Regions from separate parts of the Homo sapiens genome. Here all the other regions are linked to region 1. Evidence: promoter capture Hi-C in human tissues and cell types (Jung and others, 2019). All regions are on one chromosome and are shown on one strand. The core of a region is centred on a gene start or on the middle of the fragment in contact, and the rest is flanking DNA. Distances in the headings are between cores, read along the strand shown. Region 1 holds the start of CREB3L3 (cAMP responsive element binding protein 3 like 3). Region 2 holds the start of PIP5K1C (phosphatidylinositol-4-phosphate 5-kinase type 1 gamma). Region 3 overlaps TJP3 (tight junction protein 3). Region 4 holds the start of PLIN5 (perilipin 5). Region 5 holds the start of ATCAY (ATCAY kinesin light chain interacting caytaxin). Region 6 overlaps CHAF1A (chromatin assembly factor 1 subunit A).

Region 1 (4,799 bases), core at 1,364-3,863:
TGCACTCCAGCCTGGGCAAAACAACAGCGAAACTCTGTCTAAGAAAGAGAGAGAGAGAGGAAGGAAGGGAGGAAGGGAGGAAGGGAGGGAGGGGGAGAGAGAGAGAGACAGAGAGAGAGGGGGGGAGAGAGAGAGAGAGAGAGAGAGAGAGAGAGAGAGAGAAACGAGAGAGAGAGAGAAAGAAAGAGAAAAAAGGGCCGGGTGTGGTGGCTCACGCCTATAATCCCAGCACTTTGGGAGGCCAAGGCAGGTGGATCACCCGAGGTCAGAAGTTCAAGACCAGCCTGGCCAACATGGTGAAACCCCATCTCTACTAAAAACACAAGAAATTAGCCGAGCGTGGTGGCGGCTGCCTGTAATCCCAGCTACTCGGGAAGTTGAGGTAGGAGAATCACTTGAACCTGGGATGCGGAGGTTGCAGTGAGCCAAGATCGCGCCATTGCGCTCCAGCCTGGGTGACAAGAGTGAAACTCTATCTCAAAAAAAAAAAAAGAGAGTAAAAGAAAGAGGGAGAAAGGAAGGAAAAAAGGAAGGAAGGAAGGAAGGAAAGAGAAAAAGAGAGAGAAAAGAAAGAAAAAAAAGAAAGTGGGCCGGGCGCGGTGGCACACGCCTGTAATCTCAGCACTTTGGGAGGCTGAGGTGGGTGGATCACAAGGTCAGGAGTTCAAGACCAGCCTGGCCAGGATAGTGAAACCCATCTCTACTAAAAATACAAAAATTAGCCAGGTGCAGTGGCGGGCGCCTGTAATCCCAGCTACTTGGGAGGCTGAGGCAAGAGAATCGCTTGAACCCGGGAGGCAGAGGTTGCAGTGAGCCGAGATGGCACCACTGCACTCCAGCCTGGGCAACAGAGCGAGACTCCTTCAAAAAAAAAAAAAAGAAGAAGAAAGAGAGAAAGGAAGGAGAGGAAGGAGAAGAGAACCGAACCTAGCCAGGGAGATGCCCCAAGTTTGAGTTTGAACCTAACTCCAAATTGCTGTGTGACTTTGGATGAGTTTCCACCCTGCTCTGGGCCTCCATTCCCCACCTGTAAGAAGGAGCTGATGCTACCCGCTAAATGATGTGCTTGGCTAAAATCAAGCACCGTGACCCATTAGTGCATCGTAGAGCTGAGCAGAGCTCTGGCTGGGCTCTGGCGGGTCTAGCACCTTCGTGGGGCCTCAGTTGGCCCGCCTGGAGCTCTGTGGTCCCGGGGCAACTGCAGTGGACTCCTCACCTGGTCCTTGACGTGACCCCAGCCCTCGCCCAGCTCCACGTGTCTCAGGATGCCGTCCTGCCGGTCAAACAGGAGATCCAGGAGCTCAAAGCTGTCGATGGGGTCCATGGAGCAGGCAGCAGAAGCCATCTGGGGCGCGAGGAACAGATGTGAGGGTCACATACAGCCCCTGTCCTCCCCACCTCCCATGTGCACATAACCCTGGCTCTTTCCGGCTAGAGTTCAGTTGCCGCTCTGCCTCCGGGTTGGGCCAGCTGCTGCCCCTCGCTGAGACTCCCTTTCCAAATCTGGACTTTGAGGCTGATAGAGAGAATTCCACAGTGTGAGAGCCAATTTCTCTTAAAGTGCTGGAGAGGCTGGATGTGGTGGCTCATGCCTGTAATCTCAGCACTTTGGGAGGCCGGGGCAGGAGGATCACTTGAGCCCAGGAGTTCAAGACCAGCCTGCGCAACATAGAGACCCCTATCCCTACTGCAAATAATTTAAAAAAATTAGCTGGCTGCGGTGGCACACACTTGTCGTCCCAGCTACTGGGGAGGCTGAGGTAGGAGGATCCCTTGAACCCAGGAGGTTGAGGCTGCAGTGAGCTATGGCCACCCCACTGCACTCCACCCTGGGTCACAGAGCAAGACCTTGTTTCAAAAAACAAAAAAGTATGGCAGGCACGGTGGCTCACATCTGTAATCCCAGCACTCTGGGAAGCCGAGGCGGGCAGCTCACCTGAAGTCAGGAGTTTGAGACCAGCCTAGCCAACATGGTGAAACCCTGTCTCTAGGAAAAGTACAAAAATTAGCCGGGCGTGGTGGTGCACACCTGTAATCCCAACTACTTGGGAGGCTGAGGCAGGAAGATCTCTTGAACCCAGGAGGTGGAAGTTGCAGTGAGCTGAGATCGTGCCATTGCACTCTAGCCTGGGTGACAGAGGGAGACTCCATCTCAAAAAATAAAAATAAAAATAAAATAAAATAAAATAAAAAGTGCTGGAGAGAGGCCCTAGCTAGAGATGCCGCTTGCCTCTCAGGCCTTCACAGCCTCCCCAAGTGCCCGCTCCTAGGAGGCAGGGGGACCTGGAAGAAAGACAAGGGCAGCCCCGGGGCAAAGGCACACAGTTTTGCTCATTGCATCCTTTCTCTGGGCCTCAGTCTTCCCATCTGTACAATAGGGGTGGAGATGGGGTCCTTCCAGCTCTGGCAGCTTGGGTAGGCTTTCCCAGCCTAGACTCCCGCTCTCCCTGGGGACCTAGTAGGGCTCACCTTTCCAGCAGCTAAATCCGTATTCATGGGTCCATCCAGTTCTGTCTGCAGATGCCTCGGGGGGTCTCTGCTCCAAGCTGGAGGCCCACCCACCGCCAGCGTTACCTGGGGCCGGGCAAGCTCACAGCCCTCTGTGGCTCTGTCACCACTCCCAAAAGATGCTGAAGCGGTCACAGGCAGCTCCCAGCCCACCTCCAGGTGCTGATTGGTGGACAGGGTGGAGAGACAGGGTTGAGGGCCAGTGACACTGGGGCAGGCAGGAGCAGGGGAGGGAAGACCGTTATCTGGGTGTTTTGTGGTTTTCCAGCCCTCAGTGAGCAAAGGTCGAAGTCTGGGGTACCTCCACTCTGCCGTGACCTCTGCCCTACTTATGAGGACTTTTTCTTTTTTTCTTTCTTTTTTGAGACGGAGTCTCGCTCTGTGGCCCAAGCTGGAGTGCAGTGGTGCCATCTCATTTCGGCTCACTGCAACCTCTGCCTCTTGGGTTCAAGTGATTCTCCTGCCTCAGCCTCCCGAGTAGCTGGGACTACAGGTCCCCATCACCATGCCCGGCTAACTTTTGTATTTTTAGTAGAGACGAGGTTTCATCATGTTTTCCAGGCTGGTCTCGAACTCCTGACCTCGTGATCGGCCCCTCAGTCTCCCAAAGTGCGGGGATTACAGGCGTGAGCCACCGCACCCGGCCAGTTACAGGACTTTTTCTCTTCAGAATTCCCAGATGGGTTCTGGGATAGCCCAGGGCCCTTACATGGGTCCTGTCCACTCCCTGGACAGAAACAAACCAAGAGGACCAGACCAGATCTTCACTGAAGCCAGTTTTCCTGCCAGCAGCTAGCGGCTCCCATCCTTCACCCCACCTGCCAACCTCCGGCCCCCAGCCCCCTCCGAAACCAGCTTGGACTCCGCCTCTGAGTCCCCATGGGTGATTCTGTGCAATCAATTCTCTCTAGAATCTTCTATCGTTCATTGAGTCAACAAATATTTATGGAGCCAAACTGGTTCCTGCTTAGGGCCTTTGCACCTACTCACCTGCTCGCCCCTCTGCCTGGAACTCTCCTCTTGTACCCTCCCTCTTCCCCTCTGGCTCTAGGTCACTGTATTGACATTTTAGTGAATGTTCGATATTTGTGAATCAGCCCGGGTGGCTGAGAGGTGTCTCTGACCTCCCCTCCACCCCCTACCAAGAGAGAGGAGCCCTGTTTTGTTTTTTTGTTTTTTTTTTTGGTGTTGGTGGAGGACAGGGTCTCACTCTATTGCCCAGGCTGGAGTGCAGTGGCAGGATCATAGCTCACTGCAGCCTCCAACTCCTGGGTTCAAGTGATCCTCCCGTCTCAGCCTCCCAAGTAGCTAGGACTGCAGGCGTGCACCACCACACCTGGCTAATTTTGTTTTTTTTTTTTTATAGAGATGGGGTCTTACTGTGTTGGCCAGTATGGTCTCAAACTCCTGGGCTCAAATGATCCACCTGCTTCAGCCTCCCAAAGTGCTGGATTTACAGGCATGAGCCACTGTGCCCAGGCAAAGTCCCCCTTTAGCAGATGACATATTAGACCAAGCGTGGTGGCTCACATCTGTAATGCCAGCACTTTGGGAGGCCGAGGTGGGTGGATCACCTGAGGTCAAGAGTTTGAGACCAACCTGGCCAACATGGTGAAACCCCATCTGTACTAAAAATATAAAAATTAGATGGGTGTGGTAGCACATGCCTGCAATACCAGTACTCGGGAGGCCGAAGCAGGAGAATCACTTGAACCCAGGAGGCGGAGGTTGCAGTGAGCTGAGATCACACCACTGCACTCCAACCTGGGCGACAGTGAGACTCTGTCTCAAAAAAAAAAAAAATGACATGTTCAGTGCAGTCCTGAAGGATGAGATGGAACTGGCCCTGGGAAGGTCTGGGGAAAGGTGTCCCAGGCAGAGGCACAGTTTGTGCAAAGGCCCTGAGGCAGGTCCGTGCCTAGCGCATTGGAGGAACAGCAATGAGACCCCTGTGGCTGGAGCAGAGTGAGGAGAGGAAGACAGGCAGGAGAGGAAGACAGGGAGGAGGGGAAGGCAGGGAGGAGGGGAAGGCAGGGAGGGGACGGGGCAGGTCGTGCAAAGCCCTGTGTGTTGTGGCAAGGAGTTTGGTTTGTGCTAAACAGCAGGGCACTGTTGGAAGTTTAGCAAATAGGAGACTAAATCAAGCTTTCTGTTTGCTGGACACTGTGCCATGTGCTAGGTTGAGAGGGGTAATTTATGTGCCCTCCTTGCTCTAAAAAAATTCACATCCTGGTTCCCTTCCCCTTCCTTCCTTCCTTTCCTTCCTTCCTTCCTTCCTTCTCTCCCTCCCT
Region 2 (4,799 bases), core at 1,136-3,635, 450 kb after region 1:
GTAAAGATGAGGGGTCTCACTACACCTAGCTAATTAAAAAAATTTTTTTTGTAGAGATGAGAGGGCTCACTATGTTACCCAGGCTGGTCTAGAACTCCTGAGCTCAAGTAATCCTCCTGCCTTGGCCTCCCAAAGTGCTGGAATTACAGGCGGGAGCCTCTGTGCCCACCCCAAACATTATTTATGTGCATAGGTAATATAATCATTATGATTTACATTTATGTAAATAATATAAACGTTATTACTTAAATTAACATAAACAACATAAGCCTTATTATGTGCTTATATAAAGAACATAAATATGGCCGGGCGCAGTGGCTCACACCTGTAATCCCAGCACTTTGGGAAGCTGAGGCGGGAAGATCACGAGGTCAGGCGTTCAAGACCAGCCTGGCCAACATGGCGAAACCTCATCTCTACTAAAAATACAAAAATTAGCCGGGCGTGGTGGCACGTACCTGTAGTCCTAGTTACTTGGGAGGGTGAGGCAGGAGAATCACTTGAACCCTGGAGGCAGAGGTTGCAGTGAGCTCAGATCGCCCCCCTGCACTCCAGCCTGGGCAACAACAGCAAGACTCCATCTCAAAAAAAAAAAAGAAGGATATAAATATTGCTACTTACATTTGCATAAATATATATAATTTATTATGTATTTCTATAATTATATGTTTCTTATAATAGCAAACTGTATTATTATTGATAAAATAATATAAAGAAAACAATAACATATCTATACTTACGTAATACAAACGATGGAATATAAATATTATTTGCAATATGATAATAAACAGGTAGTTAATTGCAAATGTTATTGATATGTATTGCGTAGATCAATGTTAATAACATGTATTGTGTAGATCTATATATATATATATTTTTTTTTGATATGGAGTCTCGCTCTGTTGCCCAGGCTGGAGTGCAGTGACACGATCTCAGCTCACTGCAAGCTCTGCCTCCCAGGTTCACCCTATTCTCCTGCCTTAGCCTCCCAAGTAGCTGGGACTACAGGCGCCCGCCACCACGCCTGGCTAATTTTTTGTATTTTTAGTAGAGACGGGGTTTCACCATGTTAACCAGGATGGTCTCAATCTCCTGACCTCGTGATCCGCCCGCCTCGGCCTCCCAAAGTCTTGGGATTACAGGCATGAGCCACCGCGCCCGGCCCTGTGTAGATCAATATTATTTACATGTACTGTGTATATCACTGTTATTGGTATATTTTGTGCATATCAATGTTATTGACATGTAGTGTGTATATCAATGTTATTGACATGTAGTGTGTACATTAATGTTATTGGCATGTAGTGTGTATATCAATGTTATTGGCATGTAGTGTGTATATCCATGTTATTGGCATGTAGTGTGTATATCAATGTTATTGACATGTAGTGTGTGTATCAATGTTAGTTACATGTATTGTGTAGATCAATGTTATTGGTATTCATTGTGTATAGCAATGTGATTGGCATGTATTGCATATAGCAATGCTATTTGTATGTTTTATGTAGATCCATGTCAATGATATAGTATAGATTCATGTTATTGGCATGTATTGTGTATATCCATGTTATTGGCATGTATTGTGCATATCCGTGTTATTGGCATGTATTGTGTATATCCATGTTATTGGCATGCATTGGGTAACTCCATGTTATTGGCATGTGCTGTGTAGGTCCATGTGTGGTTTTTTTTGGGACAGAGTCTCACTCTGTGGCCCAGGCTGGAGGGCAATGGTGCGATCTCAGCTCACTGCAACCTCTCCCTCCTGGGTTCCAGCGATTCTCCTGCCTCAGCCTCCCGAGTAGCCGCGATTACAGGCATGTGCCACCACGCCCAGCTATTTTTTGTATTTTTAGTAGAGACAGGATTTCACCATGTTGGTCAGGATGGTCTTGAACTCCTGACCTCAGGTGATCCGCCCTCTTCGGCCTCCCAAAGTGCCGGGAATATAGGCGTGAGTCACCGCGCCCGGCCAGATCCATGTTATTGTCATGCGCTGTGCAGGTCCCTGTTATTGGCATGTGCTGTTTAGATCCATGTTATTGGCATGTGCTGTGTACATCCATATTATTGGCACGTGCTGTATAGATCCATATTATTGTCATGTGTTGTGTAGATCCATGTTATTGGTATGTGTTGTGCACAGCAATGTTATTGATACGTATCGTGCCTGTCAATCTTACTGACCTAATACGATGGAATGGCGAGCCTGGCTCTGTACTCCCACCCCTGGGCGCGAGGGGGCACTCGAGGCGCTCCTGGCTGCGGGTCGCAAGCAGGCCCCGCCCCCGAGCCCCGATTGGCCGCGCGCCGTCCGCGGCGTCGCACGCACGCAGGCCCCGCCCCGTCCGCCCCGCGCCGGCCCGGCGCGCCCTCCCTTGGCCGGCGGCGCTTGTTGTTCGGCGGCGGCGGTCGCAGCTCGGGTCCCCCTCGGGCGCCCCCGCCGCCGTCCGCGCGCGGCCATGGAGCTGGAGGTACCGGACGAGGCGGAGAGCGCTGAGGCGGGGGCCGTGCCCTCGGAGGCGGCGTGGGCGGCAGAGAGCGGGGCGGCGGCAGGTAACGGCCCGGCCTCCCGGGGCTGCGGCCCGCTGGGCTCGTCCGAGCGCCGAGAGTCGCGGGGCTGCGGGGCCGGGGCGGGGGCTGCACGGTCGCTGCGGGGGCGCCGCCGGTTCCAGGAGCCTGGGGCGGGGCAGTCCCCTGGAGCCGCGGGGAGGACGGGGCTGAAGCCGCGCCGGGAAGCGGGAGGCCTGCGAGGGGCTACCTCCCACCGCTCCCGGGCCGGGGGCGACTCGGCGTGGGCGCCGCTGGGGATCCCCGTTCTGCCTGACCCGCTCCCAGGGGCTGCCCGTCGTGTGAGTGGCGGCTGCTTGGGTGGAGGCGGGGGTCTCTGAGGCCGTGCGTGCCCACCTCCTGATGTCACCTCCCTTTCTGTAAGTCCCCAGACCTGAGTCCGGGTGCGCGACCTTTCCTCACCTTCCTGGGCCTCAGTTTACCTCCCTGCTAAAATGAGGGGAGGAAAAGGGTTACATCTCAAGATGCCTCCACCGCCCCGGCTGTGCACACAGGGTGCCCTGTCGCCCCCTTTTCCTCTCCCCGAGCCTTCCCCCAGGACACACTGGTGGGGCTGCGGGCTGGGCGGGGGGCACGGCTGTCTCATGCCCCCTTTAGCTGCTTCCTGGACCTCCAGCCGGGTAGGTGGCGGCAGCTGGGCCTTCCCTTCTGTGGGGACGGTGTGCAGAGCCCAGAGGAAGGGAACAGTTCCTTCTCAGTCGAGGTCACAAGCTCCCAAATCGGAAGTTTCCGGATTCACAAAATCCTCTGCTCCTCCCAGGCAGCCAGCAGCAGCGTCTCTGTAGACACCCACACGGGCATCCGTCCTCCTTCTCCCCCCAGGCCTCCCGAAGCTTCCTTGGTTGGCAGGCGGGCAAGCGGGCGGGCGGGCGATGCGTGCTGCCTGGGAGTTGGGGAGATGTCTGGAGAGAGAGAGAGTGTGGAAGTCATCAAGTCCCCCCCCCACCCCCCGCCTTGAAAGACACTCGTGGCTTCCCTCCCGGCGGCCATCTGGAACCGCTTGGTAGGTGACCCGGTTCCTTCCCCAGAGCCAGTGGCCTCGCCCCTTTCTTTGCGGGCAGCCGGTGTCCTGGCCTGGCCAGCAAGAGACATGGTGGAGGAACCCAGGCAGGGCACCAGGCCCCAGCCCGGGTTCCTTTCTTGGGCCCCCCAACTTCCGCTGTCAGCCCTCTGACCCCAGCTGGTCAGAGACAAAGTAGCCCAGGACTCGCTGACCAAAAGAAAACCACACCGCGACCATTCATCTTATCAGGGGCTCTGGGAGCACCGGGGACAGATAAAGTTGCCAGCTCCAGACTGAGCATGGTGGTGGGGTGGGAGAGCGGGGGAGTGGGGGGGTGGGGGTGGGGGGCCGGGGAGGGCTGGAAGGTCAGGGTCTGGCATCTCTGCCCATCCCTGAAATCCACAGAAATCTGACCCCAGCTGGCCATATACTGCTTCTGAATGTTTAAAATTCAGAGTTGCCTCACTCCTCCAACGCCATCCCTCCTGATGTTAGCGCTGGTGAGTTTAGGTTGTGCCTGGCTGGGCCACAGAGACGTGAGCACATAAAGGGGCCTGCTTGTTCTTCACCGAGATGGTTTCATGCCTCACTGGGGCTTCTGTGCCTTGGCAGAGGTATTTTGAGTCAGGAAATTAGGGGTGCTGAGCAACGCCCCTGGCTTCTGCCCACTCCATGCCAGGAGCACCTGCCAGTTGTGACAGCCACAAGTGACCCAGACACCGTTCAGTGTCCCCTGGGGGCAGGACGGCCCTGGTGAGAAATGCCACACGTTTATGACTCTGTGAACTGCTTGCTTTTTATCTCTGGTCATCTGGAGTCTCCCCACCCTATGTTGGTATCGGTTTGTAGAGAGGGCGAGCGCCAGGCAGTGGTTAAGGGGGAGCCCCAGAGTTGGTCCCGCCGATGTCCCCCTCCCAGCTCCGCGCTTCAGGTGCTGTGTGGCCGTCACTTCCCCGGGCTTCAGCGTCCCGTCTGTGAAGTGGGGTGATGACCGTGTGTGCTAGGGGCTGAGCCTGGGATGAGTTGGCGCTCGTGCTTGGTGATTGTCGTGCCGGTTGGCCACCCCTTTCCGGCCTCTCCACCATCGGTGCCTCCAGGCCCCTGCTGAGGCCCATGCCCGTGGTTTCTGGAGTCACCGCTCACTGTTAGAAGCGATGGCGACACCTTCCAGAAAGCTCAGCTACAGCGGGAGCCTTGTCCGACAGGGGCCGAGGGAGGCTGCCCG
Region 3 (4,799 bases), core at 2,300-4,799, 410 kb after region 1:
TCTCTATCACATCTGAGGGGGTCTTCCAGAATTGAGCCCCTGGACTCCAGGTCTCTGGTTTATGAGAGGGTAAACTGAGGCCCAGAGGGGGCTACAACCTGCCAGGCTGTCCGGCAGCTGAGTGAGGCCAACGGCCCCCGCCCCACAGGAGACGAAGTCGCAGACGTCGGTGACACTCAGCATCGTCCACTGCCCTCCCGTCACCACCGCCATCATCCACCGGCCCCACGCCCGCGAGCAGCTGGGCTTCTGCGTGGAGGACGGCATCGTGAGGCCCCGGCCCCTGGCCCCGGGGTGGGGGGGTAGGGCGGCCCTGAGCACGGCCCCTGAGCAGCCCCCACCTCTTTCCCGTCCCCCTCTTTTCTCCCCCAGATCTGCAGCCTCCTCCGTGGTGGCATCGCCGAGCGTGGGGGCATCCGCGTCGGCCACCGCATCATTGAGATCAATGGGCAGAGTGTGGTGGCCACGCCACACGCCCGCATCATCGAGCTGCTCACCGAGGCCTATGGCGAGGTGTGCGGGTGGTGGGTGGTGGCCAGGGGCGCCCCCACGTCCCCCACGAGCCCAGGCCTGCCCTGAGCCCCGTTCCGCCTCCACTCCCCAGGTGCATATCAAGACGATGCCAGCTGCCACATATCGCCTCCTTACAGGCCAGGAGCAGCCCGTGTACCTGTGACCACCTCATCCCTTGCCTGCCACTGTGCCTTCGCCTCCATGGCCCCGGAGCCCCATCCTGGGCCTGCCCTGGCTGGCCAGGACCCCAGCGGTTCTTGGTCCTGTATGATTTCCTAATATAAAAACAGTAAAAGCTTATGCATTTGGCAAAGTCTCGGATCAGGGTCTACGGGACCGAGGACCTTGTCCTTCCTGGAAGCCACTAGAAGCCGGTGCTGTGAAAATACTCTGTTTATTAAAGACCAGGCGGAGGGAGGTAAGGTTGTGGGTTCTGTATGGGAAACTGAGTCCCAGCCCCAGGGAGGGAGAAGGAGGACGGACCAGCTGGCAGCCTTCGAGAGGTCACAGGTCAGTGGCCGGACCCCAGTCATAGCCGTCTTCATCGGAGGACTCCGCATCATGTACTCGCATAAACTTTTTCTTCAGGGCTTCCCGTTCATAGGTTCTGGGGATCAGGAAATAGAATAGATGCTGTGGGTGGGAAGGGTGTGAGCTTTCTCACCATAAACTGAGGCTGGCTGTGCTAGGCACAGTGGGTGTGGGCAGAGATAAGCACATCTGGGCATTCATGGGTAGGGCCTTGTTAACAAACTCCTATGCATCCCTCAAAGCCCCAGCTGCAATATCCTGCCCTTCAAGAAGCCTTCCTAGGCCTCCCAGGAAGTGGATTCCTACTCCCTTGGCCCTGATTATATGGGGCTTAGAGAGGCTCTGGCAGGCTCTGTCTTCCCCACTAGGCTAGGGGCACCATGAAGGCATAGCTTGGATCTAGATCTGAGTCCGCAGAGTCTGAGTCCCAAGGGAAGGGTTGAGGGCCCCAATCTGGAATATGGGGTTCTTACCGCATGCTGTCCTGTCGCCACTGTCCCTGGGGGTGGCGGCTGTCCACCTTGGAGGAGAGGGAGAGAGGAGCTTCAAAACTCCCCCCAGAGCATGGTGAGTCGAGATCAATAACCACCTCCATCCCATCCCCCACCTTGGCCCGGGCCATGCTGCCCACTTGCTAACCCCGTGACAAGTCTGCAGGTCATCCCCAAATCTAAATGAGAAAACTGAGGCTGGGATAGGGGAAGGCCTTAGCTGAGACCTCCTAGCCTGTCAGCAAAAGGGGAATTGGGTTTCTCATCTGTGCAAGTCCTCACAGGGCCACAGCCATGAGTTCATGTACGTAAAGGACTTAGTACAGTGGCTGCTCCGTATGCAGCCTGCCATGGACAGTTGAGCAGGTTGGGTACTGCACAACCCCAGGAAAATCACTCTAATCAGAGATGTCATTGATTCATAGATTTTTACATTGACCTAGAGAGGGTGTGGAAGAAGATGCTGAGGCATATACACTAAGAGCTACATACACATTTGTTACTGTTAAACACCCAACTACAGCTGGGCGCTGTGGTTCACGCCTGTACTCCCAGCACTTTGAGATGCCAAGGCAGGAGGATCACTTGAGCCCAGGAGTTAGAGACCAGCCTGGGCAACATAGCAAGACCACATCTCTGCAAAAAATGAAAAAAAATTAGCTGGGTGTGGGTGGTGGTGCGCGCCTGTGGTCCCAGCTACTCCGGAGGCTGAGATGAGAGGCTCCCTTTAGCTCAGGAGTTGGAGGCCGCAACGAACTATGATTGTACTACTGCACTCCAGCCTGGGCAGCAGGGCAAGACCCTATCTCTAAAATTTAAAAAATAAAATATATAAATTAGATAGGTCAAGTTCAAAAAGACACGCAACTACTATGTGCCAAAACTTGGGCTGAGCACATTGAGTGCTCACCACCGCCCTGTGCCACCAAGTCTGATACCATCCACCCTGTGTCCTAGATGAGGAAACAGGTGCACAGAGAGGTTAAAATGTTGGCTGGAGGCCAGGTGCGGTGGCTCACGCCTCTAATCCCAACACTCTGAGAGGCCGACGTGGATCACCTGAGGTCAGGAATCGGAGACCAGCCTGGCCAGCGTGGTGAAACCCTGTCTCTACTAAGAATACCTTAAAAAAAAAAAAAAATTAGCTGGGCATGGTGGTGCTCACCTGTAATCCCAGCTACCTGGGAGTCTGAGGGAGGAGAAACGCTTGAACACAGGAGGCCGAGGTTGCAGTGAGCCCAGATCGTGCCACTGCACTCCAGCCTGGGTGACAGAGCGAGACTCTAACTCAAAAAAAAAAAAAAAAAAAAAAAAAAAAGGCCGGGTGCAGTGGCTCACACCTGTAATCCCAGCACTTTGGGAGGCCGAGGCTGGAGTTCCAGACCAGCCTGACCAACATGGAGAAACCCTGTCTGTACTAAAAATACAAAATCAGCCAGGCATGGTGGTGCACGCCTGTAATCCTAGCTACTCAGGAGGCTGAGACAGGAGAATCGTTTGAACCTGGGAGGCGGAGGTTGTGGTGAGCCGAGATCACGCCATCGCACTCCAGCCTGGGCAACAAAAGCGAAACTCCATCTCAAAAAAAAAAAAAAAAAAGCCTGGGTGCAGTGGCTCATGCCTGTAATCCCAGCACTTTGGGAGGCCAAGGCGGGTGGATTACAAGGTCAGGAGTTCAAGACCAGCCTGACCAATGGTGAAACCCCGTCTCTACTAAAAATACAAAAATTAGCCGGGCATGGTGGCAGGTGCCTGTAATCCCAACTACTCAGGAGGCTGAGGCAGGAGAATCGCTTGAACCTGGGAGGTGGAGGTTGCAGTGAGCCAAGATTGCGCCATTGCACTCCAGCCTAGGCGACAGAGCAAGACTGCGTCTCAAAAAAAAAAAAAAAAAAAAAATGCTGCAAGTTACTCAGTGCCACGTGGGTCTCAGCTACCCCAGGTCTGAGTCCCAGAAACCAGTCTGACCAGGGAAGCCGTGTTTGTTGACGTCCTGGTAGAAAACAGGCTCCCAGTGTGTGTCTGCTCTGTGCTGGCATCCCCTCCGGAGACCCTTCCCAGGCCTGCCCCCCATGTCCGACGCACCTGGGCCCCCTGATGAGCCGAGATTCTCCCACGATCCCTCGGGCTCTGGGACTCATCTGCCTGCACGGGCTCCGAGGACCGGGCCAGGGCTGGAGCCGGGGGCTCATCATCCACATCCGTGTAGGGCCCCCCCTCGCCGTCTGTGTAGCCCTCGCCATCCGTGTACGCGCCGCCCTCGCCGTCCGTCTCGTAGTCGCTGTTAACGCGGCTGTCGCAGCTGAGGTCAGCGGAGCTGTCGGCCAGGCCGTGGTGAGGGAGGTCTAGGTTGTCCTCCAAGGAGCCATCCAGCTGTGGGGTGGGTGTGGATGCTGCGGCTGGCCCTGGCCAGGACCCCAGCTGCCACCCACGACATCCCCCCACCTTCAAACTCTGGTCCCAAATCAAGGCGAGGAGCCTGGAGCCTGGAGCCTCAGTGGAGGCTTCTCTGTTGACTCCAGGATGGGTTGTATCCATTGACCCTTCACCTGAGAGGCTCAGCCCCCAAATCCAAGCTGAGCCCCAAACCTTGACTCCAGCCCCAAGAGAAGACTCCATTCTCTCTCTCTTTTTTATGAGAAGGAGTCTCTGTTGCCAGGCTGGAGTGCTGTGGCGCAATCTCTGCTCACTGCAACCTCTGCCTCCCGGGTTCAAGTGATTCTCCTGCCTCAGCCTCCTGAGTAGCTGGGACCATGGGCGTGAGCTCCCGTGCCCCACTGACTCCATTCTCAAAACAGCTCCTCCAGGCTGGGCGCGGTGGCTCAGGCCTGTAATCCCAGCACTTTGGGAAGCTGAGGCAGGTGGATCGCCTGAGGTCAGGAGTTTGAGCCCAGCCTGGCCAACATGGTGAAACCTCGTCTCTGCTAAAAATACAAAAATTAGCTGGGCCTGGTAGCGCTCGCCTGTAGTCCCAGCTACTCGGGAGGCTGAGGCAGGAGAATCACTTGAACCCGGGAGGCGGAGGTTGCAGCAAGCTGAGATCACACCACTGTACTCCAGCCTGGGTGACATGAGACTCCATCTCAAATCAAACAACAAAAAACAGCTCCTCCAATCTCATCTCACCCAAGTTCCAGTCCAACACCCTTGTCTCAGGTCCCATCTTGACTCTGGCCACAGTCCTGATCCCTGACCAAGCCCTAACTCCCGACAGAGGCCCCAAACCCCAGCTGGGCCTGCACAGCGTCTGTGGGGCCTCCCTGC
Region 4 (4,799 bases), core at 2,300-4,799, 380 kb before region 1:
TGCACCTGGCCGTGGAATTCTTCAACCTGACCCACCTGCCAGCCAACCTCCTCCAGGGCGCCTCTAAGCTCCAAGAATTGCACCTCTCCAGCAATGGGCTGGAAAGCCTCTCGCCCGAATTCCTGCGGCCAGTGCCGCAGCTGAGGGTGCTGGATCTAACCCGAAACGCCCTGACCGGGCTGCCCCCGGGCCTCTTCCAGGCCTCAGCCACCCTGGACACCCTGGTATTGAAAGAAAACCAGCTGGAGGTCCTGGAGGTCTCGTGGCTACACGGCCTGAAAGCTCTGGGGCATCTGGACCTGTCTGGGAACCGCCTCCGGAAACTGCCCCCCGGGCTGCTGGCCAACTTCACCCTCCTGCGCACCCTTGACCTTGGGGAGAACCAGTTGGAGACCTTGCCACCTGACCTCCTGAGGGGTCCGCTGCAATTAGAACGGCTACATCTAGAAGGCAACAAATTGCAAGTACTGGGAAAAGATCTCCTCTTGCCGCAGCCGGACCTGCGCTACCTCTTCCTGAACGGCAACAAGCTGGCCAGGGTGGCAGCCGGTGCCTTCCAGGGCCTGCGGCAGCTGGACATGCTGGACCTCTCCAATAACTCACTGGCCAGCGTGCCCGAGGGGCTCTGGGCATCCCTAGGGCAGCCAAACTGGGACATGCGGGATGGCTTCGACATCTCCGGCAACCCCTGGATCTGTGACCAGAACCTGAGCGACCTCTATCGTTGGCTTCAGGCCCAAAAAGACAAGATGTTTTCCCAGAATGACACGCGCTGTGCTGGGCCTGAAGCCGTGAAGGGCCAGACGCTCCTGGCAGTGGCCAAGTCCCAGTGAGACCAGGGGCTTGGGTTGAGGGTGGGGGGTCTGGTAGAACACTGCAACCCGCTTAACAAATAATCCTGCCTTTGGCCGGGTGCGGGGGCTCACGCCTGTAATCCCAGCACTTTGGGAGGCCCAGGTGGGCGGATCACGAGGTCAGGAGATCGAGACCATCTTGGCTAACATGGTGAAACCCTGTCTCTACTAAAAATATAAAAAATTAGCCAGGCGTGGTGGTGGGCACCTGTAGTCCCAGCAACTCGGGAGGCTGAGGCAGGAGAATGGCGTGAACTTGGGAGGCGGAGCTTGCGGTGAGCCAAGATCGTGCCACTGCACTCTAGCCTGGGCGACAGAGCAAGACTGTCTCAAAAAAATTAAAATTAAAATTAAAAACAAATAATCCTGCCTTTTACAGGTGAAACTCGGGGCTGTCCATAGCGGCTGGGACCCCGTTTCATCCATCCATGCTTCCTAGAACACACGATGGGCTTTCCTTACCCATGCCCAAGGTGTGCCCTCCGTCTGGAATGCCGTTCCCTGTTTCCCAGATCTCTTGAACTCTGGGTTCTCCCAGCCCCTTGTCCTTCCTTCCAGCTGAGCCCTGGCCACACTGGGGCTGCCTTTCTCTGACTCTGTCTTCCCCAAGTCAGGGGGCTCTCTGAGTGCAGGGTCTGATGCTGAGTCCCACTTAGCTTGGGGTCAGAACCAAGGGGTTTAATAAATAACCCTTGAAAACTGGATCGGATGAATTGGCTTTCATTGTGTTCCTAGCATCTTCTCAAATCAACTTCCCAGGACTCCAGGGTGAAGGAGGAAAAGAGGCATGGCCCAGGCCCTGGGGTGTGGGATATGGTCTCCCTAGGGGATGACAGTTGGGATCAATGGCCTGTGACTTCTCCTCTCCCTTCCCCCATCCTGGGACCTAACTGGAAATAAAACCTTGACTGTTGCCCGGGTGTCATTTTACCAGTGGATTTCTGCCAGGGCTTGTGTCCTAGGAGAAGGTTTAAGTTAAACCAGATTGCCCAGGTCTCCAAACGATTTGTCATGCTGACCTGAGATCATCGAAGGGGGCACCTGCCCCCGGGCAAGGTTGCAGGGGCAGGATGGGGCTGAAGGGATGAGCAGGGTCCCGGGCCCACCTGCTGATACAGCATTGGCCATGTGGGGGCTGCAATCGGATTTGGAAGACCCTGGGGCTTGGGGGCATGTCCAGTTTTCCCAGCTCCCTAAAAAATGACCATGCAGCCTGGCGCCGTGGCTCATGCCTGTAATCCAAACACTTTGGGAGGCTGAGGCAGGCAGATCACCGGAGGTCAGGAGTTCGAGACCAGACTGGCCAACATGGCAAAACCCTGTCTCTACTAAAAATACAAAAATTAGCCAGGCACAGTGGCACGTGCCTGTAATACCAGCTACTTGGGAGGGTCAGGCAGGAGAATCACTTGAACCTGGGAGGCGGAGGTTGCAGTGAGCCAAGATCACGCCACTGCACTCCAGGCTGGGCGACAGAGTGAAACTGTGTCTCAAAAATAAAAATAAAAATAAAAAGACCATGCCTACATCTGTGGTCATTCCAGGCAAGGCAATGAAAAGGCAGGGTTCTGAGGTCCAGCAGGGCTGGGTTTGAATAGGATCCCTGGCCGGGCACGGTGGCTCATGCCTGTAATCCTAGTACTTTGGGAGGCCAAGGCAGGCAAATCACGAGGTCAGGAGTCCAAGACCAGCCTGACGAATATGGTGACACCCCGTCTCTACTAAAAATACAAAAATTAGCTAGGTGTGGTGGCAGGCGCCTGTAATCCCAGCTACTCCGGAGGCCGAGGCAGGAGAATCACTTGAACCCAGGGGGCGGAGGTTGCAGTGTGTCAAGATCGCGCCACTGCACTCCAGCCTGGGCGACAGAGTCAGACTCTGTCTCAAAAAAAAAAAAAGAAAAAAAAGGAATAGGATCCCTCACTTGCTGTGGTATGCGGGGCAAGTGTTTTATGATCTCTGAGCCTCAGCTTGCTCATCTGTGAAATGGGGATCCTAGGGAAAGGGAAGGCCTGGCTTCTGGCTTAGTTAAGGGGCAGATTAAGAAATAAAAAGAGGCTGGGTGCAATGGCTCACACCTGTAATCCCAGCAATTTGGAAGGCTGAGGTGGAAGGATCACTTGGGGCTCAGGGGTTGAAGACAAGCCTGGTCAACACAGGGACATCTCGTCTCTACAAAAAGTTTAAAAAGTTAGCTGGGGGTGGTGGTGTGTGCCTGTGGTCCCAGCTACTTAGGAGACTGAGGCGGGAGGATCACCTCAGCCTGGGAGGGCAAGGCTGCAGTGAGCTATGATCACACCACTGCACTCTAGCCCTGGGCAACCGAGCAAGACCCAGTCTCAAAAATCGATAAATAATAATAATTAATAAGAAAAGTCATCAGCGAGTTGGCCAAGGTCACTCAGCAGGGCTATGGGGGCTGTGATCGCATGGACTGTCTCTATGGCAACAGCAGTGAGGATGACAGGTGGCCAAACTTGGTCCGGGAACGTATAATAGCTCAATCTTTTGAATCTAGCGCTCCCGAATTACTATGGCAACCGTAGGGCACTGGGCCAGCTCAAGGAGAGGGCGAGGGAAGCCTGGAGCCACGCCCCCTGGGCACGCCCCCGCACGGCCTCTCCCCATTGGTCAGTTCCGGAGGCCCCCACTGCGCGAGCAGCTATAAGAAGGGCGGGCGGGACCGGCGGGGGTGTGGAGACTCGAGCCTGGGGTCGGCGGAGACAGCTGGTGTCTGAAGCCGCTCGCGCCCAGGTGAGTGCCCTGAGGGCGGCGTCCGGGAGCGCCCCCCCGGGCTTAGGAGAGGAGCTCCAGATAGGGTGGTTGGGCGAAGGTCCGGCGGCGTGGGACGGGTATGACCGGCCAGAGCAGGTGGCTGGGACCCTTGGCCCGGTTGGCCCCAGCTCAGGACCCAGTTGGGCGAGGACCAGGCCTCAGAGGACGCGGGGTGGCAACCGGAGGGATCGCAGGCGGCAGGTCTGAGGCCCGAGGTCGAGCTCCCCCCCTGTAACTCTAGCTGGCTGCGTGACCTTGGGACCAGCATGGACCTGCTGCGTACCTCAGTTGCCCTGTCTGTCAAATGAGCTGTGAGTGGACTGGGACCCAGCAGCTACCACCTCCAGCCGTCTAGGGTGCTTGGGCAGTTCTGGGCCCAGGCAGGGGCCGCAGGGGTAGCAGGGACCTCCCACATCTTACAAAACAGGAAGCAGCCCAGAGAGGTGAAGGTGCTTGCCAAAAATCACACAGCTGGCCAGGTGCAGTGTCTCATGCCTGTAATCCCAGCACTTTGGGAGGCCGAGGTGGGCAGATCACTTGAGCCCAGGAGTTTGAGACCAGCCTGGGCAACATGGCGAAACCCGGTTTCTACTAAAAATACAAAAATTAGCCGAGCATGGTGGCACGTGGGTAATCCCAGCTAACTGGGAGGCTGAAGCAGGAGAATCACTTGAACCTGGGAGGCGGAAATTGCAGTGAGCTGGGATGGCGCCACTGCTCTCCAGCCTGGGCGAGAGAGATTCTGTCTTTAAAAAAATAATAAAAATAACACCGCAATTAATGGTAGCATTTGAACCCAGGTCTTTCTCACCTCAGAGACCATGCTTCGAGTCACTCCGGCAACCCTACCTTGCCAGAGGCTCATTATTGGACACCCTCTGTGTACAGAGCTCTGGACATGCATTGTCTGAGCTCCACAGAATGCCCCATTATGCAGATGAAGAAACTGAGGCCCCAAGAGGTTTGAGAGTTGCTCAAGTCACAGAGCCCAATTTGACAGGATCTGATGCCTGGGCAGGTGCTCCCCTTACTCAATCCTGCCCCGCAGGGTGACCCTGTTTGCAGCACGATGTCTGAAGAAGAGGCGGCTCAGATCCCCAGATCCAGTGTGTGGGAGCAGGACCAGCAGGTGAGGGCTGCCCCTCCCATGGAGCAGGGACAGAAGGTATT
Region 5 (4,799 bases), core at 647-3,146, 270 kb after region 1:
GATAGGAGGATCGCTTGAGCCTGGAAGGTCAAGACCAGCCTGGGCAACATAGCAAGTCCCCATCTCTTAAAAAAAAAAAAATACAAAAATTAACCAAACATGGTGATGGGTGCCTGGTGCCTGAAGTCCCAGCTATTCAGGAGGCTGAAGTTGGAGGATCGCTTGAGACCAGGAGGTCGAGACTGCAGTGAGCTATGATCATGCCACTGCTTTCCAGCCTGAGCAACAGAGACCCTACTTCAAAAAATAAAATAAAAGATAAAGCATCTGGCTGGGGGCAGTGGCTCACACGTGTAATCCCAGCACTTTGCGAGGATCGCCTGAGCACAGGAGGTTAAGACCAGCCCGGGCAAGATAGCAAGACCCTGTCTCAAAAAAACCAAATACATGAAGCATCTAAGGCCCCCAACTCTCATGGCATCCAGGCTGCCTCTCTGTGGAGTAGGTTACCTGCAGCCCCCCAGCATAGATATCGGGTTTGCATCGGGGACAGGGGACTGTGGCTTAGCAAGGAAGGACCCAGAGGCAGCCTCAGCCAGATGAGGAAGTGGGGGGAGGGGACGGCTAAAACTAGACCCTCCCCCGTACAGGGTGAGCGTTTCTCACTCGATTCTCTGTCCTCAATGTCGTCATTCATGCTTGGAGGAGGGACAGTAACACGCAGCATGGAAAAAAAAAAAATCCCTCCTGGATGCTATGGGGTCGGGGGGGGGGCGGTGGCAGCAGCCAGCCAGGCCCTTCCCGCGAGGGTAAGTTCTCCTCGGCAGTAGAAACGCATTTGCTCTCCGGAGGAAGGGGTCTTCGCCTCTCCCTTCCTTATACTGAGCTGGGTGTGACCTCAGCCCCCAGGAACACTCCCACCAGCCCCGCCCCCGACCCCCACCCCCTGCCAGCTGCAGCCACAGGCGTTGACTCCACAGTCTTCTAAGGATGGGGTGGGGTGGGTCCTCAGTGGGCCCCGGACACTCCTGCACTCAGATCCTGGCTTCGCATTTGGGGACGGCCAAAAGAAGACAGTGACATCAAGGAACGGGAGTGAAGCGCTCATTTGAGCCCTGATGTCTGATTATTAACAAATCACATACGAGTTCCAATAAGGAGGAGGCATCTGTGTCTTAAACCATAAACCACCCCCTTCCTCCCCACCCCACAGGACAGCCTTTATCGACACACTTAGATTTTTTTTTTTTTTTTTTCCCGAAATCGTCGGCTGGTGGCCTTCCTAGCGTTATAAATAGGAAATACATAGGGCTAGGATGGGTCTATTTCAGCGTCCCAGAGAGAAGCTGAGGTTTTCATCCGCCCGAGCTCTCAGCGTGTCCTGAAAATGGTGCACTTAGAGGGGAACGGTGCGCGCGGAAGGTAAACTGTGTTGCTGGGCGCAGCTCAGGGAACGGTTTTCCCTGGTACCGGGAACAGGGATGTGAGGGCCTTCACGGAGTCACAAGACCGTGGCTCTCTGCTCCCACCCGCCCCATCTGCTGGAAAGGGATTTAGAGGCGGCAAAGGCTGCCGGATAAACCTTCCAGGGAGACGGTTTATCCTGGGAGAAGGGGAGATGCGCGCACTCACCTCTGCAGCTGAGACAGCCTCTCCTCCTTACTGGCAAACAAAGGCGAGCCCTGCCCGGGTGCAGCTGGGCATCGCTCACGCTCCCCGGGCCTTCAGAGCCTAGGAGGAAGAGGATGCTCGCAGGGGCGGATTCTGCATCCGAGGAAGGTCACCCAGGGCGACGTGGCCAGCGCCCGCCAGCTCTTTTGTGCAGGGGTGGGTGGGGTGCAGGGTTAGCGGTGGGCTCCCCAGCGCGGGGCTGCGGCTGCGCCCCCTCTCATCGCCGCCCGCCTGCGCGCCCTGCCTCCGAGGTAGCTGCTTCTTCCCAGCTCAGGGCTGGCAGAGGCTCGGCTTCCCGAAGACGGTTAATTTATGCTGCTTTTGTGTGCAGGGAGGAGGGGGTGGGGGGTGGCGGCCTGACGGAAAAGCACAGCCCCCTGCCAGAATCCGATCCTCCCCATTGGCTGACAGACAAGCATCTCCGAAAGCCACGCCAGGGGCAGAGGCAGAAATAATTTTCTGATGGCGCATCAGAGATTTAAAAACAAAACAACGGACAAATAAATAAATAAATGGCAAGATGGCCTCATTCCTTAGAGAATGGGGGGTGGGGGAGTTGGGAAAGGTCTTCTTGGCACTTCTCCTTGCAAAGGGAGCAGGGGTGAGGGGTGGCATCCCCCAAAAAGTCTGTGCAGGCAAAGAAATGACTGTCCCCAGGTCGGATGCCATGGCTCACGCCTGTAATCCCAGCACTTTCGGAGGCCGAGGAGGGAGGATCACCTGAAGTCAGGAGTTCGATACCAGCCTGGCCAACATGGTGAAACCCCGTTTCTACTGAAAATACAAAAATTAGCCAGGCGTGGTGGCGTGCGCCTGTAATCCCAGCTACTCGGGAGGCTGAGGCAGGAGAATCGCTTGAACCTGGGAGGCGGAGGTTGCAGTGAGCCGAGATGGCGCCACTGCACTGCAGCCTGGGCGGCAGAGGGAGACTCTGTCTCAAAGAAAAAAAAAAAAAAAGAAAGAAATGACTGTCCCCAGGTCACCGTGTTGTGGGTCCATTAGATGGTCACTTACCATTGATTCAGCCTCGTGCCCTAAACAGGGCTGGGTGCAGGGGAGGCGGAAGTTTCTCAGGCACACTCACTTTGCAGGGCTGCTGTGGGAACGGCGCCCCCTGCAGTTGTGCGCTGGCGTGGCCTCGCCCTGGAGGAATTCAAGGAGACTGTGGAAGATGGTAGGGTGGAGAGTGCAGGCCGTGCAGTCGGACTGGAAGTGGGTTTGAACTCTAGCCCAGCCACTCCCCAGCTGGCAGACCAGTGGGCATGAGTGATCTCACCTGCGGGCCTCAGTTTTTCTCATCTGTGAAATGGAGCCGCTATGGCTTTTCCACATTATGAGATAATGCATAGACAGCACTAAACACAGTGCTGGGGCACAAGAAAAGCTCCCTATGTGTTTCTTTCTCTTTCTTTCTTTCTTTCTTTCTTTCTTTCTTTCTTTCTTTCTTTCTTTCTTTCTTTCTTTTTTTTTTTTTTTTAGGTGGAGTCTCGCTCTGTTGCCAGGCTGGAGTACAGTGGTGCGATCTTGGCTCACTGCAACCTCCGACTCCCAGGTTCAAGTGGTTCTCCTCCCTCAGCCTCCCAAGTAGCTGGGATTACAGGCACACACCACCACACCTGGCTAATTTTTTTTTTGTATTTTTAGTAGAGGCGGGGTTTCAACATGTTGGCCAGGCTGGTCTCGAACTCCTGACTTCAGGTGATCCGCCCACCTTGGCCTCCCAAAGTGCTGGGATTAGAGGTGCGAATCACTGTGCTCGGCCTATATGTATTTCTTGCTATTGCTGTTTTTAATGTTTATTTTATTTACTTATTTTTTTAAGAAACAGGAGTTTTCCCTGTCATCCAGGCTGGAGTGCAATGGCACAATCACAGCTCGCTGCAGTCTTGAACTCCCGGGCTCAGGTGATCCTTACACCTCTTTCTCTCCAGTGGTTGAGACTACAGGCTCCTACCACCACGCCCTGCTAATCTGTGTAATTTTTGTAGAAATAGGGTATCTCTCTATTGCCCAGGCTGGTCTTGAATTCTTGGGCTCAAGTGAGCCTCTCATCTCAGCCTCGAAAAATGTTGGGATTATAGGTGTGAGCCACCGTGCCTGACCCACAGCACTTACTATTAATTGAAATTATTTACACTTTTTTGTTGTTGTTGTTGATTCTCTGCTCCTCCTTATTAGAATATACTGGGTTTTGTTTTGTTTTGTTTTGTTTTGAGACAGAGACTTGCTCTGTTTCCCAGGCTGGAGTGCAGTGGTGTGATCTCAGCTCACCGCAACCTCCTCCTCCTCTCAGGTTCAAGCGATTCTCATGCCTCAGCCTCCCAAGCATCTGGGACTACAGGCATGCACCACCACACCCAGCTATTTTTTTTATTTTTGGTAGAAACGGGGTTTCACCATGTTGGCCAGGCTGGTCTTAAACTCCTGACCTCAGGCAACCTGCCCACCTTGGCCTCCCAAAGTGTTGGGATTACAGGCGTGAGCCACCGCACCTGGCCAGAATATACATTTTCGAAGAGCAGAGGCTCGGTTGTTCTTATGCACCACACGTTCTCCGCACAAGGTAGCAACTCCTGGTCCAAAGCTGTTCAGGAGACGCAGGCAGAGTGCATGAAGGCTGGCTCCCTTCATGACATTCAATGACACCCCACCTAGGCTGGCAGCCTCACCCGCTGCATGGAGGTCTGCACTCTTCCGAGGCATAAAGGTAACCTGCCCACAGCAGAGGCAGAAAGCCCTGATGGGGAAGCAGAGGCCCCAGAGACTTTAGCACAAGGTTGGGACTTCCCATCTCCTGGCTGGAGAAAATGGAGGTCTTGTAAGAGACACTTGTGTTAACTGAGGGGTGGATTCGATGAGTCCCTGTGCTGGGCACTGGGCACAAGATATGAGTAATTCCCATTACTGGCAAACAAAGGCGAGCCCTGCCTGGGTGCAGCGGGCATCTCTCAGGCTCCCCAGGCCTTCAGAGCATTGGAGGAAGAGGATGCCTGAAGGAGTGGATTCTGCATCCGAGGAAGGTTGCAAGGCGATATGGCTAGTGCCCACCAGCTCTTTTGTGCAGGGGTGGGGGTGCAGGGTTAGTGGTGGGCTCCCCTGCGTGGGGCTGCGGCTGTGGCCCCTCTCATCATCACCCGCCTGCGCTCCCTGCCTCTGAGGTATCTGCTTCTTCCCAGCTCACGGCTGGC
Region 6 (4,799 bases), core at 1,366-3,865, 260 kb before region 1:
ATAGGAGACTAAGCAGAGAGTCACTAAAGGATAACCACCCATCGAGTGTAGAGGCTATTCAGATGTTATAGCACTTAGCAATAAGTGAAAGACACAGGACTGGCCAGGCGCGGCGGCTCACACCTGTAATCCCAGCACTCTGGGAGGCCGAGGCGGGCGGATCACGAGGTCAGGAGATCGAGACCATCCTGGCTAACATGGTGAAACCCCGTCTCTACTAAAAATACAAAAAATTAGCCAGGCGTGGTGGTGGATGCCTGTAGTCCCAACTACTGGGGAGGCTGAGCCAGGAGAATGGCGTGAACCTGGGAGGTGGAGCTTGCAGTGAGCCGAGATCGCACCACTGCACCCCAGCCTGGGTGGCAGAGCGAGACTCTGTCTCAAAAAAAAAAAAAAAAAAAAAAAAGAGACAGGACTACAAGGAAATGGACTGGGTTTTTGGAAGGTAATTTGAAGCTACAATGGGATACTGAACCATTAAGACAGTGGTAGCACTATTGATAAAAGCTTAGAAAAGGCCACACACAAAACCTTAGGACTCACTCAGCAAGCCAAAAAATGACACAATCCACAAACCATGAAGTCCAAGTACTTAAAATGAAGCAGGAATCAAAATGATGGTCAGAGAAGGCTGGGGAAAATGTAAAAACTAGACCAAAGGAACTTCAAAGGGCTTTGCTTACTATTTAATGCAAAAAGCACAGCAGGTTAATTTTCTATTTCAGGGAAAATGTCTTACTCTTTGCAGTCTGAGCTTGTTCTTCTCTGTAGAGCCTTTGACGAATTTCTTAGTTATCTGAAAACAGAAGACGTTTATCTTTAAACACGGGTTATTTCAATTGCTTCGAGAAAAAGAGAAACCTTTCCAGGTGATCAGTTTTTCCACCAACAGAACCAAAATGTCATAATAGGGTCACAAACTCCAGTAAGTGTGCATACATGTGTGTATCTGGGATTAGATAACAAGAGAGACTACGGAGGCAGATAAAGAAATGAGTGAAGGACACCAAGCACAAGAAAAACAAGGCAAGCTCAGAAATAAAGGCAACAGACAAGGCTGGGCGCGGTGGCTAACGCCTGTAATTCCAGCACTTTGGGAGGCCGAGGCAGACAGATCACCTGAGGTCAGGAGTTCGAGACCAGCCTGGCCAACGTGGCAAAACCCCATCTCTACTAAAAATACAAAAATTAGCCGAGCGTGGTGGCAGGTGCCTGTAATCCCACCTACTCAGGAGGCTGAGGCAGAAGAATCGCTTGAACCCAGGAGAAGGAGGTTGCAGTGAGCCGAGATTGCGCCACCATACTCCTGCCTGGGCAACAGGGTGAGACTCTGTCTTAAAAAAAAAAAAAAAAAAAAAGCGACAGCTGGCCTGGGCGACAGGGAGAGGATGGATTTGTAGCAAAGGAGAGAGGACCTGCCTGTCCAAAGGAGATGGAGTTCTTACAGGAATATAGATCCCTATTTGCTGGTCCTTCCAATTTCTCCAAGAGAAGCTGATATTAGGAATTTCATATGAATTTTTTTAGGTGTTTAAAAATGGACACAGACGGGCACAGTGGCTCATGCCTGTAATCCCAGCACTTTGGGAGGTCAAGGCGGGAGGATCACTTGAGCCCAGGAGTTCAAGACCAGCCTGGGCAATAAAGCAAGACCCTGTCTCTAAAAAAAGCTTTTAGTTAGTCGGGTGTTGTGGTGCACATCTGTAGTCCTAGCTACCCAGGAGTCTGGGGTGGGAGGAGCCCGGGAGGTTGAGGCTGCACTGAGCTGTCCAACCTGGGTGACAGAGTGAGACTGTCTAAAAAAAAAATAAAAAGATACTAAATTAATCAAATAAAACATGTCTCCAGGCTGGTTTCCTGTGCACCACTAATTTACATTCTGTCTAGCTCAACTCTGCTTTTTATTTTAATGTTATTTTTGAGATGGAGTCTTACTCCTGTCACAGAGGCTGGAGTGCAGCGAGTGCCACGATCTCGGCTCACTGCAACCTCTACCTCCCAAGTTCAAGCGATTCTCCTGCCTCAGCTTCTTGAGTAGCTGGGATTATAGGCGTGTGCCACCACACCTGGCTAATTTTTGTATTTTTAGTGGAGATAGGGGTTTCATCATGTTGGCCAGGCTGGTCTCGAACTCCTGACCTCAGGTGATCCACCCGCCTCGCCTCCCAAAGTGCTAGGAATTCAGGCGTGAGCCACCGCGCCCAGCCAACTCTGCTTTTTAGAATGTGGAGTGAAAGCTTAAGACAAAAGGGAAACTTGCTGGGGTTTTCTAGGACTTCTACCTTCTAGGGCACAATATTTTCTATCACCTACCTTCAAACTGAGCATGAGCTACTAGGAATTACCAATAGGATCCATGGTGTGACTCACCATCCACCTAAATGGTCCCAGGAAGGAAGACGAACAGGGAGTCTGGACTTTGGCCTAAGCTATCTCCCACCGGGGCAGGGAATCCTGAAAACCAAACTAGTAGAAGTGAAGAGCAATGGGAAGAGACGCTTAAGAGTGGGAAGAAATAGTTCTCCGGGTTCATTGCAGACTTGCAGTGTAAGACTGAAGTTGACTGAAAAACCAAAGGCCCATTTTCCTGGCAATGGTCTGAGGGGTCAACAAAATTATGTAAGTGATTTCTTTTTTTTTTTGAGACGGAGTCTCGCTCTGTCGCCCAGGCTGGAGTGCAGTGGCGCCATCTCGGATCACTGCAAGCTCCGCCTCCCGGGTTCAAGCGATTCTCCTGCCTCAGTCTGCCCAGTAGCTGGGACTATAGGTGCCCACCACCATGCCTGGGTAATTTTTTTGTATTTTTAGTAGAGATGGGGTTTCACCATGTTAGCCAGGATGGTCTCGATCTCCTGACCTCGTGATCCGCCCGCCTCGGCCTCCCAAAGTGCTGGGATTAAAGGCGTGAGCCACCGCGCCCGGCCAACAGTGATTTCTTTATCTGGGAAAGCTGAACCCCTGACTAGGACCTCTCACAGAATAAAAGCTTCAGATGAATGAGCTCAAGACAGCCTTTCCACCTGGGTCCCACTGAGTCCTTTCTGGACTAAACCTTTCTTTAGGGAAAGGCCGAGCCGTTGTGAGAAGGCTGCCCGTGTTGGCAGGAGCTCTTTCACCACCGAGATCAGGCCAGGGTGTTCAGTCTTTGCTGAGAATGTGGCAACAGAAATGCCAGCCCGAGGCAGCCTCACCAAATGCTGCAGAAAAAGCATCTGTCTCTCCAGCATCTACTCTGCCTGCCAAGGCTGTGTGCCTCTCCCCCACGCTGAGGGATTTAACTGCAGAATATGGGAGCCGCAGCTCTCCGGGGCTGCCCTTTGTGTTCAGAGATTATAATACGGAATGTGGTCTTGGGGTGGCGGGGAATTCAGTTCCTTAGTCTTGCCCATGCCTGAAGCTCAGCTGCAGAATCTCCTGCCTCTTACAATGCCCCCCCTCTGCTGTGAGTCCAGAGATAACAGACTTGATGTGACTGGCAAGAGCCCGCTCAGTAATATCCAACAACCAAAACAGAGCAATTACTGCTTAATTTAAAACTGGTATCTTTTTTGCTTTGCCAAACCCTCAGATGGACCTTGAAGTCTGACAGAACTTTATCTTCTTGAAATTTGACCCAAGTGTTTATAGATCTCACTCTCAAAATTCTATGCAACACTCCCACATTCTACCCAGCTGGAGCCCGGTCAGACAGCACCCTCAACTGCCAAAAACGTGATCCAGGATCCCAGAAGGAAGCCAAAACACAAAAACCGACAATCCCAAGGAGTCGCGACAGAGCTCACTATGTGTGGGCATGAAAATTCCTGCACCCTTTCTCAGATAATCCTCTCAGAGCCTATGGACTCTGATTTTATACTAAAGGGTATCTAATTTCTAAGCCCAGACCAGATAAGCCGCTAAAACCTGACAGCAGGGGAGCGGAGGCAGGGGGGAAAAGAGAAAACCTCCAATTGGCCCAAGCATGAGAGAGTGCAAGCTGGGAAAATAAGAACGCACGCATTGCCTTGAGCTACCAAGACCTCATTCTCCTTAACAGCCCAAGGCCACTTGTAGAAGGAAGCTCAAGGGAACAATCATTTTGTGAAAGCCAAGCACAGAAACAGCAGAACTGAGAAAACAGCTCTGTAACCTACAGCATGTCCACACCATGGGATATCACGCAGCTGTTAAAAAGAGCTCCATCTTTCCATCCCAATATAAAAAACATCTAAGACACCCTTGAGTAACAAAGACAGATATTTACAGTATATGTCATACACAAGGAAACAAAATGATACTGGGTGTTTCCTAGAGATCTCTCTGGATATACAGGACACAGAAAAACACAAGGTGATGATGATGATAATAATGGCAACCTCCTGGGAGAACAGAGGGCTTCAAGGTTTCCATTCTTTTTCCTTTTTGTTTTTTTTTTTTTTTGAGACGGTCTGGCTGTTGCCCAGGCTGGAGCACAGTGGTGCAATCATGACTCACCGCAACCTCTGCCTCCTTGGCTCAAGTGATCCTTCCACCTCAGCCTCCCAAGGAGCTGGGACTACAGGTGTGCACCCCCATGCCCCGCTATTTTTTGTATTTTTTGTACAGACGGAGTTTCACCATGTTGGTCAAGCTGGTTTCGAACTCCTAAGCTCAAGCAATCCTCCCACCTCGGCTTCCCAAAGTGCTGGGGTTACAGGCTTGAGCCACTGCACCTAGACCAGTATTTCTTTTAAACATGGAGAATTTATTACAAATGTAATTTCAAGTATATGGAAAGAAGTTCCAGCAATCTGGGCACAGAAGCAAGCCAAAGATTCCAG

What was found. Contacts are between HindIII fragments. The study calls those that stand out against the background at their distance.
Region 2: the fragment with the promoter of PIP5K1C here is called in contact with the fragment with the promoter of CREB3L3 in region 1 in 2 of the 25 tissues and cell types used here (lymphoblastoid cells and small bowel).
Region 3: a fragment that was not itself captured here is called in contact with the fragment with the promoter of CREB3L3 in region 1 in 2 of the 25 tissues and cell types used here (dorsolateral prefrontal cortex and lymphoblastoid cells).
Region 4: a contact is called between the fragment with the promoter of PLIN5 here and the fragment with the promoter of CREB3L3 in region 1, in 2 of the 25 tissues and cell types used here (dorsolateral prefrontal cortex and spleen).
Region 5: a contact is called between the fragment with the promoter of ATCAY here and the fragment with the promoter of CREB3L3 in region 1, in 10 of the 25 tissues and cell types used here (adrenal gland, dorsolateral prefrontal cortex, hippocampus and 7 more).
Region 6: a contact is called between a fragment that was not itself captured here and the fragment with the promoter of CREB3L3 in region 1, in 3 of the 25 tissues and cell types used here (aorta, dorsolateral prefrontal cortex and spleen).

What each region holds. Positions count from the first base shown.
Region 1 is chr19:4,151,445-4,156,243 of GRCh38, reverse strand. It overlaps CREB3L3 (cAMP responsive element binding protein 3 like 3), which reads right to left and starts at 2,613. Exons shown (of 10, transcript NM_032607.3): 1 at 2,470-2,613; 2 at 1,217-1,345. The coding sequence starts at 2,496. The HindIII fragment of the contact is 37,156 bases long and covers 1-4,799 here.
Region 2 is chr19:3,698,054-3,702,852 of GRCh38, reverse strand. It overlaps PIP5K1C (phosphatidylinositol-4-phosphate 5-kinase type 1 gamma), which reads left to right and starts at 2,385. Exons shown (of 18, transcript NM_012398.3): 1 at 2,385-2,556. The coding sequence starts at 2,463. RefSeq lists silencers at 2,137-2,626, 2,707-2,846 and an enhancer at 2,545-3,328. The HindIII fragment of the contact is 9,003 bases long and covers 1-4,799 here.
Region 3 is chr19:3,746,903-3,751,701 of GRCh38, reverse strand. TJP3 (tight junction protein 3) reads right to left here. Exons shown (of 21, transcript NM_001267560.2): 19 at 3,621-3,908; 20 at 1,518-1,564; 21 at 889-1,120. The coding sequence ends at 1,018. It overlaps APBA3 (amyloid beta precursor protein binding family A member 3), which reads left to right. Exons shown (of 11, transcript NM_004886.4): 9 at 149-268; 10 at 373-513; 11 at 605-930. The coding sequence ends at 676. Among named protein-coding and RNA genes, the nearest start is that of APBA3, 12 kb to the left of the region's middle. The HindIII fragment of the contact is 8,254 bases long and covers 1-4,799 here.
Region 4 is chr19:4,533,974-4,538,772 of GRCh38, reverse strand. PLIN5 (perilipin 5) reads left to right here and starts at 3,549. Exons shown (of 8, transcript NM_001013706.3): 1 at 3,549-3,608; 2 at 4,678-4,758. The coding sequence starts at 4,699. LRG1 (leucine rich alpha-2-glycoprotein 1) reads left to right here. Exons shown (of 2, transcript NM_052972.3): 2 at 1-2,371. The coding sequence ends at 833. RefSeq lists an enhancer at 3,843-4,398. The HindIII fragment of the contact is 58,476 bases long and covers 1-4,799 here.
Region 5 is chr19:3,877,782-3,882,580 of GRCh38, reverse strand. ATCAY (ATCAY kinesin light chain interacting caytaxin) reads right to left here and starts at 1,896. Exons shown (of 13, transcript NM_033064.5): 1 at 1,573-1,896. RefSeq lists an enhancer at 1,691-2,221. The HindIII fragment of the contact is 15,458 bases long and covers 1-4,799 here.
Region 6 is chr19:4,414,017-4,418,815 of GRCh38, reverse strand. It overlaps CHAF1A (chromatin assembly factor 1 subunit A), which reads right to left. Exons shown (of 15, transcript NM_005483.3): 4 at 740-796. Among named protein-coding and RNA genes, the nearest start is that of CHAF1A, 14 kb to the right of the region's middle. The HindIII fragment of the contact is 3,051 bases long and covers 1,090-4,140 here.